Regions from separate parts of the Homo sapiens genome. Here regions 2 and 3 are each linked to region 1. The links are contacts of gene promoters, found by promoter capture Hi-C in human tissues and cell types (Jung and others, 2019). All regions are on one chromosome and are shown on one strand. The core of a region is centred on a gene start or on the middle of the fragment in contact, and the rest is flanking DNA. Distances in the headings are between cores, read along the strand shown.

Region 1 (3,612 bases), core at 227-2,726:
CCAGACCCAGCAGTTTACACCAGTAGCTGGGCTTGCTCTTCATCCTCTCTACCACCCCTGGGGATCCACCAACCCTGCCCTGAAACTTGAGTCATCCTTTGTGCGCCCTGCTATGACCCCTGGGTGGGCATGTCCCCAGTGCCTTGTGACTGCTCCTCACCGACCTGTCCCAACCCCTCCCCCTACCTGGTGTCACTGCGTTCACATTCCCAAGCTGCCCCATCCAGATTGGCACTGCCTCTCAAGAGTTCCTGATCTTTGCCACAAGCTAAGGTTTTGTGTCGGTTGCTCAGAGGCAGGCCATCTTGGTGACCCTCGTGGCCTACGTGAGGATCCCTGCACCAAGGGTCCCACTGGATGAAGTGGGCAGTTTCACTGTTTCACCCAGGATACAACTAGGCGACGACCAGACTCCCGGCTGTCCTTCTGGGACTTTATCCTCACATCTGAGTCTCAACTTTCTCCTGTTTTGTTTTCTGAGACAGGGTCGCACTCTGTCGCCTAGGTTGGAGTGCAATAGTGCAATCTCGGCTCACTGCAGCCTCTGCCTCCCAGGTGCAAGCGATTCTCCCACCTGTGTGTGGGCCAGGTGCGCCGGACCTCGGGGCTCCCACCCGCTGGGACTACGGGTGCGCGCTGCCACGCCCGGCTAATTTTTGTATTTTTAGTAGAGACGGGGTTTCACCTTGTTGGCCAGGCTGGTCTCAACTCCTGACCTCAAGTGATCTTCCTGCCTCGGCCTCCCAAACTGCTGGGATTACAGGCGTGAGCCACCGGCCGACTCTCCGGTTTTTAAAAGTGCTCTGAGAACATTCCGAGGACACTGGGTGCAGAATGGCAGGTGCTGGCTTGTGCCTCTGCTCTGGTCTCCACCTCCGGCAGTAGACTGGGAAGAGCCCTGGGGGAGTTACTTCTAGGCTTCCTCCCCAGCAAACCTTCCTCGAGGCATAACCAAACATCTGCCCGGCATCCGAAGACTCGCGCCACTCTCCCGTCGGGCTGCGCCTCCCTCGCCCGCGCGGCACCGCCGGTCCAGGTCGCAGTTGGAGCGCGGTCGGGGAGGGCAGAGGTGGCGTCGGACCCTCAGGGCCCCGCAGGAGTCGCAGCGCAGGGCCGGAGCGCGCCGGGCCGCAGCTTCCCGCGAACAGGAATTCGCTGGGGGCTGCGACGGCGACAGCGGCGGGGACTGAGGGCGGGGAGGCGGCCAGATCAAAGAGAGCCGCCCACAGGGTCAAGACGGGTCGGGGAGCGCCGAGGGGCCCCTCGGAGGAGGGTGGGGGACGTCCAGGTGCGCGGACCCTAGAGCTGTGCGGGCGCCCACGCGAGGAGCCGGGGCCAGAGAGGCTGTGCGAGCTGCGCGCCCCCGCCCCGCGCGGCCCCGTGCCCCGCGCGCCCCTCAGGATCGCCGGGTCCCGCCCCCGGAGGAGGCGAGGCGGGGCGCGACTGGGTTCGCGGCCGCGTGCAGAGGTGCAGGCAGAGCAGCCTCGGAACCGAGACGATGCGTGCGCTCCGCGACCGAGCCGGGCTCCTCCTCTGCGTGCTGCTGCTGGCGGCGCTGCTGGAGGCGGCGCTAGGGCTCCCCGTGAAGAAGCCGCGGCTCCGCGGACCACGGCCTGGGAGCCTCACGAGGCTCGCAGAGGTGAGTGGCGGCGGCACCGGGCTGCGGAGCGCGCTGTCGGTCCCACCTCCCCAGCCCGCCGGCTCCAGCCGTGCGGGGAGCGGGACCGGGACACACACAGGCAGCGACCCCCCGATGGAGAGAGGGGCCGGGGCCGGCCGGAAGCTCCCGGACACCGGGCGTTGCCCAGGTGCGCCGGACTTCGGGGCTTCCACTCCTCGCGCGTGACCGCGAGCCGGGCTGCCGCGGACCAGCCGGGTGACAAGTTTGACTTCTGTGCGGAGTGAGGTGGCCGACACTCCACGGTGGCCGGGCTTCCTCGCCCTGAGCGGACCTCGCCTGCAGCCCCCTTTCCAGGTGCGCGCTAGCTCGGAGAGGAGTCCCGCCGGTGCGAGGAATCTGGCGCTTTGCGGAGTGGCGGGCCAGGGCCGCTGAGGTTCAAACGGTCAGGTGAGCCCCTTCCATGAGACAAGCGGAGGCACAGTGGGGCTCTCCAGCCGCCGGCAGGGGTGGCCAGCCTGAGACTGGCTCTGTCCTCGTGGCCTGTGGGTGGGCATTGGGGTATAAAACAGGAATGAGATGGAAGAGTGGTGTTGGCCATGGAGAGAAGCCATGGTCTGTCAAACCCTGTGTCTTCCAGTCACTGAGGGGTCTACAGTCCAGCTTATTGCCCCCTGGAATGCAGCGGACGTTCATTCCCATGGGGACAAAGACAGCCAGACTTGTATTAGGGTATGCAGGAGCAGTCCTATGTGGCAGGTGGTCTTAGGTCTTGGGTCCTGGGTCCTTCCATGTACTAAGCTGTAGGAGGCCCGAATAGCTCTTCCCATCTTGCCGTTTTTCCTTCCTTCCTTCCTTCCTTCCTTCCTTCCTTCCTTCCTTCCTTCCTTCCTTCCTTCCTTCCCTCCCTCCCTCCCTCCCTCCCTCCCTCCCTCCTTCCTTCCTACTTTTTCTTTCTCCCTCTCTTTTATTTTATTTTTGGGACAGGATCTCTCTCTGTCACCCAGGCTGGAGTGCGGTGGTGTGATGATAGCTCACTGTAGCCTCAACCTCCCGGACTCAATCGATCCTCCAGCCTCAGCCTCCTGGGTACCTGGGAGCGCAGGCATGCACCACCACACCTGGCTAATTTTTTTTATTTTTTATTTTGTAGAGATGGGGGGGTCTCACTGTGTGTCCCAGGCTGGTCTTGAACTTCTGACCTCAAGCAATCCTCCTGCCTCAGCCTCCCATAGTGCCAGTATTACAGGCATGAGCCATGGTGCCCAGCCATTCTTCTTCTTCCTTTTTTTTTTTTTTTTTTTTTGAGACAGAGCCTCATTGTGTTGCCCAGGCTGGAGTGCAGTGGCACGATCTTGGCTCACTGCAACTTCTGCCACCCGAGTTCAAGCTATTCTCCTGCCTCAGCCTCCCAAGTAGCTGGGATAACAGGCGCCTGCCACCGCGCCTGGCTAATTTTTGTATTTTTAGTAGAGACAGGGTTTCACCATCTTGGCCAGGCCGGTCTTGAGCTCCTGACCTCATGATCCACCTGCCTCGGCCTCCCAAAGTGCTGGGATTACAGGTGTGAGCCACTGCACCCAGCCATTCTTCCCATTTTTGAGATGACGACACTGAGGGTCCATATAGGCATGCAGGGTGTGGGAGATTGTGAGTGAGTGAGTGAGAGAGTGAGAGCCAGAACTTGTCCAGACTGCTGAAACCCTCCAAAGGCCGTGGGAAGGAATGGGGAGACTGGCTGCACTTGAGGATGTGTCTGTAGACCAGTTTTGCTACCTTTTTTTCTGCCCCCTTAAGGAGTCTTTTAGGTTTTTTTCCTGTCCCCACTCCCCATGAATTTTTTTTTTTTTTTTTTTTTTTTTTTTTTTTTTTTTCCTGAGATGGAGTCTCACTCTGTCACCCAGGCTGGAATGCGGTGGCACAATCTTGGCTCACTGCAACCTCCGCCTCTCGGGTTCAAGCAATTCTCCTGCCTTAGCCTCCCCAGTAGCTGG
Region 2 (3,285 bases), core at 720-3,219, 190 kb after region 1:
CCTTATTTGAAGGGAGGCCAAATGTCTGCTGCAGTCCCTCTGTGTCCTGATTTACAGCACCAGCCTTGATGGAACATGGCAGGGCCTTAACACCCAACTCTTTGGGAACCTTGAACGTGTGGCTGAATGAAGCCAGCAGAAGCTGACCTCCAGTGTGGACCTCTCAGAGAAGTTTGCATTTACAAGCCCCTTTCCTTGAGGATTTCACAGCATTTAAATAAATGGCTGTGTGCTTATTTGGCCTCATCGTTAGATGATTTGCATGGCTATATCGTGGTATATTAAACAAGGAGTATATCCTACCCTCAAGTTCTTGTTCTTAAGTGATTCTGTGTCTTCCTAATAACTTTTGAACACCACATACCATACATAATTGGATGTGACAACCAAACGTGAGAATTTCCCATTCTTCTGGCTTGTCTGTTTATTTTGATGGACAGGTAGGGGATGGAAGAGGGCCAGCAGCTTAAAAAAACAAAAAACCAAACAGGTATCCAGCTACTGAAGTATCAAGCAATCCCTTTTCCCAAAATCAAAATACATACATTGTGTAGATTAAAGACTGGTTTCTGGTGTAAATGAAGAAAAGAACTAGGGGTTCCTTAAAATTCTCTGAAATACCTTCAGAGGGGTCTTTCTCAACTTGTACCTACAGTTGTGTAATAGAAGCTAATGGCTATCAATTACTATCTGTGTGTTAATAACACTCATTTTCTTCCCTTCTCTCTATTCCTGGTGTGTAGCTACTTGGTTGCTTTTCTCCCTGTCTCCTACCCACACCTTCCTGGCTGAACTTGCTGATTTCATGTCAGTGCACAAGTTGCTGCTTAATGGGAACATATATATTGCTTGATTTGGCTCTTCACTATTACAATACTCTTTTCTTAGTTATAGATATCCTAGGTGACTTTAGGTCACCAAAGTCATGCCTTCATCAGGTCCCCTGTCTTAAATGTTAGGTTGTACTGAGTCCAGTAGGTCGCTGACCTAGCTCAGCTTGTTATTTGACAGCTTCTCTATTCCTCCCACAGTTCTGTGCATTCCTTGGCTCCTGGCTGGTCCCCTTTGCCTACCTCACTGTACTGGATCTGTCCAAGTCCCTCTCGGCAGCACTGCTCACAGCTGCCCTCCTCACCTTTGGTAAGTTGTCTTAGCCATACCATGGCTTTTGGGAAATGGGCTGCCACTCCGTGAATGTAGCTGAAAATCAGTACATTCAAGGGCCCTATATGTGGGTCCAGTTCAATTAATTTTAGGATTGGGTAAAATGTACTACAAATCTCATTCACTAGTAATACTTAATGTATATCAATAGTTATATATAACAAGCCTTTATATTATTGGAGGGGAGAATCGGCGTGGGTAATCCCAAGGAATAGATTTACCTCCACGTTATTCACGGTTGAGTTTGGAATGGGTAATAAGATAGATTTGTATGTGAGTATGTGTGTTTTTGAAGGAAGCTTATAATTCTAATTTTGCTTCTCTTAAGTTAAGATTAGTTTGCATTCCTTAACTAATTTCAACTGAATATAAAGGTAAATGCAGAAGTAGCTGGGTGGCAAGAGATAGCAAAATGGGAACTTGGATAATAATCTTCACATGGATAAATGAGAGTTCATCGTAGAAGTTGATCCTGTTGCTAGCTTTGTTCCTATGAAAGTGAATTCATGACCTTGTGGAGCTTAACATTTAAAGAAGTCTAGACCAATTTAAATGGGGTACTTTAGGGGTTTGCTTTGACAGATATGTTGCTTTGTTTTGACAGATAGATTGCAAGATTATTGGCTTTCTCTATAGAGGACTGGTGGCTTTTTCCTTGTATCTTGAATTTCCATCTTCAGTTATTCATTCATTTAGTCATTTATGTACTTTTCATTCAATAGTTATTTCTCAAGCACCTACCCAGCTCCCGGCCACTTTTCTTAGTCTGAGAGGATACACTGATGAGTCACTCTGGTCTCATTGAGCTTACCTCATCGTGGGGCAGACAGTAAATAAACAAGTAAATGAATAAGTCTGTCATGTGATGTCCTAAGCCACAAGTGCAGTGTAGAAAATAAAGCAGTGTAAGGGATGGAATAATGGAGATCAGTACTATTTTAGACAGGATAGTCAGGAAAGAGCTTCTGAGAGGGGAGCTTTGAGCAGAGACCTGAGTGAGACAAAGGATCAGGCCCTGCAGGGATCTGAGGGAAGAGCATTCAGGCAGAGGGAAGTGCATGTACTGTAGTTCTGGTGTGGACCTCTGTGGGTTCAAATCACAGTAAGAAGGCTGGCGTGGAAAGGGCAGAGTGAGTGAGGCAGAGGGTGTTGGGAGATGAGGTTAGATGGGTAGGGAGACCGCACAGACTCTGGCAGTTGTCATGAGAACTTTTTACTTTGAGTGAGGTTGGAAGACATTGGAGGGTTTAAGCAGGGGCATGACATAATGAGATTTAAGGATTTAAATTAAAAAACATCACTCTGCCATCTGTCTGGAGAATCGACCCCCAAGAGAGACTTCATGTAAAATGATAAGATTCTATCATAGGTGTAGATAGTTTGCGGTTACATGAGCAGAGTGGTAGGACTCCCTTTTTGATGGTGGAAATGAGGATGACACCTTGTCTCAGGGCTGGTCTGAGGGAGCGAATGACATGATCCTCTCTTGGGTTGAGGGCCTAGAGGCAGTGTGAGTTACTGCTTCTTGTCATTGGGCTTTGATGTCTCCCAGAGCTGTGGCCTTCTACCTCCCTGATGACTCAGTGTTGACTCTAGTCCTGACTGCACAAGTGCTTACACTCAATTAAGTGGCAAGAGGGACTGTTTCCTACTACTGGGGTGCTTGGTTTTCAGGGGGCCCTTCTCTTACCTCGCTTTTTCACCAGCGAGCTCATGTTTTTCAGACACGGGATGCCTCACTCTGTCCCAGTACATCCTCCTTGACCCCATCCTGATGTTCTTCATCATGGCTGCCATGCTGAGCATGGTCAAGTACAACTCTTGCGCCGACAGGTCAGAAACTCCATCCCCGGGAGGGGAGGGTTGGAAGCTGTGGCAACTCCAAAATTTCTGTAATGGCCAGGGCCAGGGCGGGTGCCCAGAGACTTGTCTTGAAGCTGATTTTAAGGCAAGCATACTTTTTGTTTGTTTTTTTAACTTAGATTGTCCATTTTAGATCATAAAAATAGATTTTAAAAAGTTTTCTACAGGTGATTTTATTTTTGCCATATTCAAGACCGAGAAAATGTCAGTTGTCTTTTTCAAGCGTATTATTATTATCATGTTTACAATGGAGTACAA
Region 3 (3,840 bases), core at 747-3,246, 230 kb before region 1:
TTGGAAAAATTATTATTGTTAAAATGTTCATACTACCCAAAGCTAGCTCTAGACACAATGCAATCCCTATCAAAATACCAATGACATTCTTCAAAGAAATAGAAAAAACAATACTAAAATTTGTATGGAACCACAAAAGACCCCAAATAACCAAAGCAATCCTGAATAAAAAGAAAAAAAACTGGAGGCATCACACTGCCTGGCTTCAAAATATACTACAAGGCTATAGTAACCAAAGCAGCATGGTACTGCCATAAAAACAGACACATAGACCAGTGGAACAGAATAGAGAACCCAGAAATAAATGGATCGGCTATAAATGCATGGAATTTTTGATTGTTTGGAGACAACGTCTCACTCTGTCATCCAGCCTGGAGTGCAGTGGTGTAATCTTAGCTCACTGCAACCTCCGCCTCTCAGACTCAAGCTATCCTCCCACCTTGGCCTCCCAAGTAACTGGGACTAAGGCACGCACCACCACGCCTGGCTAATTTTTGTGTTATTTTAGAGACAGGGTTTTGCCATTACACCCAGGGTGGTCTCAACCTCCTGGCCTCAAGTGATCCACCCGCCTCAGCCTCCCAAAGTGCGTTACAGGCATGAACCACCACCATGCCCAGCCAATGCGTGGATTTTTAACGCTGATGCCCAAAGCATACATTGGGGAAAGGATAGTCTCTTCAATACATAATGCTGTGAAAACCGAATAGTCACATGCAAAAGAATGAAAATAGACCTCTTATTTCTTATCACATACAAGAATCAAATCAAAATGGATTAAAGACTTAAATGTAAGGCCTGAACTATGAAACTGCTAGATGAAAACACTGGGGACATGCTTCAGGACATTGGTCTGGACAAAGATTTTTTGGGTAAAATCTCAAAAGCACAGACAGCAAAAGCAAATATAGACAAATGGGATTGCGTCAAGCTGAAAAGCTTCTGCACAGCAGTCAACAGACTGAAGAGGCCACCTACAGAATGGAAGAAAATGGTTGCAAAATATCCATTTAAGAAAGAATTAATAACCAGAATGTACAAGAACTCAATCGCAAAGAAACGAGATAATCTGATTTTAAAATGGGCAAATGATCTGAATAGACGGTCTCAAAAGAAGACATACTTATGGCCAACAGGTGTATGAAAAAATGTTCAGCATCACTAATCATCAGGGAAATTCAAATCAAAACCACAGTGAGATATTATGTCACTCCAGTTAAAATGGCTATCATTAAAAAGGCAATAATAGATGCTGGCGAGGATACAGAAGGGGGGGAACACTAGTACATTTTTAGTAAGAATATAAATTAGTACAGCCACTATGGAAAACAGTATGGCAGTTCTTCAAAAAACTGAAAATAGAGCCACTACGTGATCCAGCAATTCACTGCTGGGTATATATCCAAAAGGAAATCAGTATATCAAATCAAAAAGGGATATCTGCACTTCCATGTTTATTGCAGTGCTCTTTACAGTTACCAAGATACGGAATCAAGTTGTGTCCAGTGGGTGAATGGATAAAGAAAATGTGGTCTATATACACAATGGGATATTACTCAGCCATAAAAAAGAATGAAATCATGTAATTTGCAACAATATGGATGGAACTGAAGGTTATTAAGTGAATAAGCCCGGCACAGAAAAACGAATACTGAATCTTCCCACTTGTATGTGGGAGCTAAAAAAGTTGGTCTCAAGGAAGCAGAGAGTAGAATGGTGGTTACCAGTGGTTGGGAAGGATGTTGGGGACAGGGAATGAAGAGAGATTGGTTGATGGTACAGAAATACAGTTAGAAAGAGTAAGTTCTAATGTTCCTAGTACAGTGGGGTGAATAGTTAGTGATAATTTATTGTATATTGCAAAATAGCTAGAAGAGAAGAATAGTTAATGATAATTTATTGTATATTGCAAAATAGCTAGAAGATTTAGAATGTTCCCAACACAAACAAATGTTTGAGGTGATGGATATCCTAATTACCCTGATTTGATTATTACACATTTTGTTCATGTATCAAATATATATACCCCATAAATATGTATAATGATTATATATCAAAAATAAATTTTAAAAGCAATTAACATTGATAAATTTGCTTTATCACATATTTGCCCATCTTTCTGTCCATCTGTCTGTCCGATTTACTGCATTGCATTTCAAAGTAAGTTGAAGACAGCAATACATTTTACCCTTAAATATTTTAGCCGCATGCTTGATTCTAGAATTCACATTCAAAAATTAAACTAATATCATTTATTAGACTTAAATTAATTGCAAGTAAGGTTTAAAAGGCTGAGTGTGACTACAAAGAAGTTTGGAATTTTCTAAGGTTAAAAAATATTCTCTTGTTCAGAATATTGGCTGGGTGCGGCAGATCACTTGAGGTCAGGAGTTTGAGACTAGCTTGGTGAAACTCCATCTCTACTAAAAATAAAAAATTAGCCCGGCATGGTGGTGCACACCTGTAATCCCAGCTACTTGGGAGGCTGAGGCAGGAGAATCGCTTGAACCCGGGAGGCAGAGGTTGCGGTGAGCTGAGATCGCGCCACTGCATTCCAGCCTGGGCAGCAAGAGCGAAACTCCGTCTCAAAACAAACAAAATACTAATGGGGCTGAGTGCAGTGGCTCACACCTGTGACTCCAGCACTTTGGGAGGCCTAGGTGGGAAGATCACTAGAGCCTGGAGTTTGAGACCAGCCTCGACAACATAAGTGGGACCCCATCTTTACAAAAAATTTAAAAATTAGCCAGGCATGGTGGCACACATCTGTGGTCCCAGGTACTCGGGAGGATGAGGCAGGAGGATCACTTGAATCCAGGAGGTAGTGGCTGCAGTGAACCATGTTCATGCTACTACACTCCAGCCTGGGTGACAGAGTGAGATGCTGTCTCTTTTTAAAAAATTATATATATACACACGTGTACACGTATGCACACATATAATACATATTACAGTGAAGTACTTTTCAACTGTTCACACAGAGGATGGGGAGGCACGTGAGAGGGATGAAATCCGGCATGACAGGCGAAAAGAGAGACAGCATGACCGGAATCTTTCCAGGGCAGCTCCTGATAAGAGGTAGGTGTTATTTAAGATGTGTACCAATCATGGTGGCCGGGCGCAGTGGTTCACCCCTGTAATCCCAGCACTTTGGGAGGCCAATGCGGGCGGATCACGAGGTCAGGAGATCGAGACCATCCTGGCTAACACGATGAAACCCTGTGTCTACTAAAAGTACAAAAAATTAGCCGGGCATGGTCGTGGCAGGCGCCTGTAGTCCCAGCTACTTGGCAGGCTGAGGCAGGAGAATGGCGTGAACCCGGGAGGTGGAGCTTGCAGTGAGCCGAGATCACGCCACTGCATTCCAGCCTGGGCGACAGAGCGAGACTCCATCTCACAAAAAAAAAAAAAAAAAAAAAAGATATGTACCAATCATGAAGAGTGGCCTTTTTGTACCTTTTAGAGCAGAGTTTTAGTCCACTAAGATCAGTTTTGCTTCTCTCCCTTTCTTCTTTAGTTTGATAACTTAATAAATTAGCACTTAATTTTCTTGTACTTAACTACTTTGTCTTAGCTCTAGTTGACTGTCTTTGGAATTAATCTTCCATCACTTAAGTCAGAATTGAGAATGATGGGAATATAGAAAACGGAATCGAGATCAGATTTTTGAAAAGGATGTAGTAGTAAATTTGGACTGTTATAGTCCGTTCTTTTTCTACCTCAAATGGTGAGATAAATGGATTATGTGCCTCTTTAGACAGGAAATAAGCTTTCATGCTTTTATTGAGATCATTTTATATGCATAGTACTGCATCTAGTACAATTGAGGAGAAGAGCAGT

The links. The method cuts DNA at HindIII sites, captures the fragments that hold promoters and counts their contacts. A contact is called where the count stands out against the background at its distance.
Region 2: a contact is called between a fragment that was not itself captured here and the fragment with the promoter of ISM2 in region 1, in 1 of the 25 tissues and cell types used here (bladder).
Region 3: a fragment that was not itself captured here is called in contact with the fragment with the promoter of ISM2 in region 1 in 1 of the 25 tissues and cell types used here (bladder).

What each region holds. Positions count from the first base shown.
Region 1 is chr14:77,496,680-77,500,291 of GRCh38, reverse strand. ISM2 (isthmin 2) reads left to right here and starts at 1,476. Exons shown (of 7, transcript NM_199296.3): 1 at 1,476-1,639. The coding sequence starts at 1,499. RefSeq lists an enhancer at 793-852 and silencers at 1,223-1,412, 1,683-1,892, 1,933-1,992. The HindIII fragment of the contact is 11,286 bases long and covers 1-3,612 here.
Region 2 is chr14:77,302,547-77,305,831 of GRCh38, reverse strand. POMT2 (protein O-mannosyltransferase 2) reads left to right here. Exons shown (of 21, transcript NM_013382.7): 4 at 1,032-1,140; 5 at 2,889-2,997. Among named protein-coding and RNA genes, the nearest start is that of POMT2, 17 kb to the left of the region's middle. RefSeq lists enhancers at 1,833-2,332, 2,333-2,834. The HindIII fragment of the contact is 6,861 bases long and covers 1-3,285 here.
Region 3 is chr14:77,722,419-77,726,258 of GRCh38, reverse strand. SNW1 (SNW domain containing 1) reads left to right here. Exons shown (of 14, transcript NM_012245.3): 11 at 2,982-3,078. Among named protein-coding and RNA genes, the nearest start is that of SLIRP, 16 kb to the right of the region's middle. The HindIII fragment of the contact is 6,691 bases long and covers 1-3,840 here.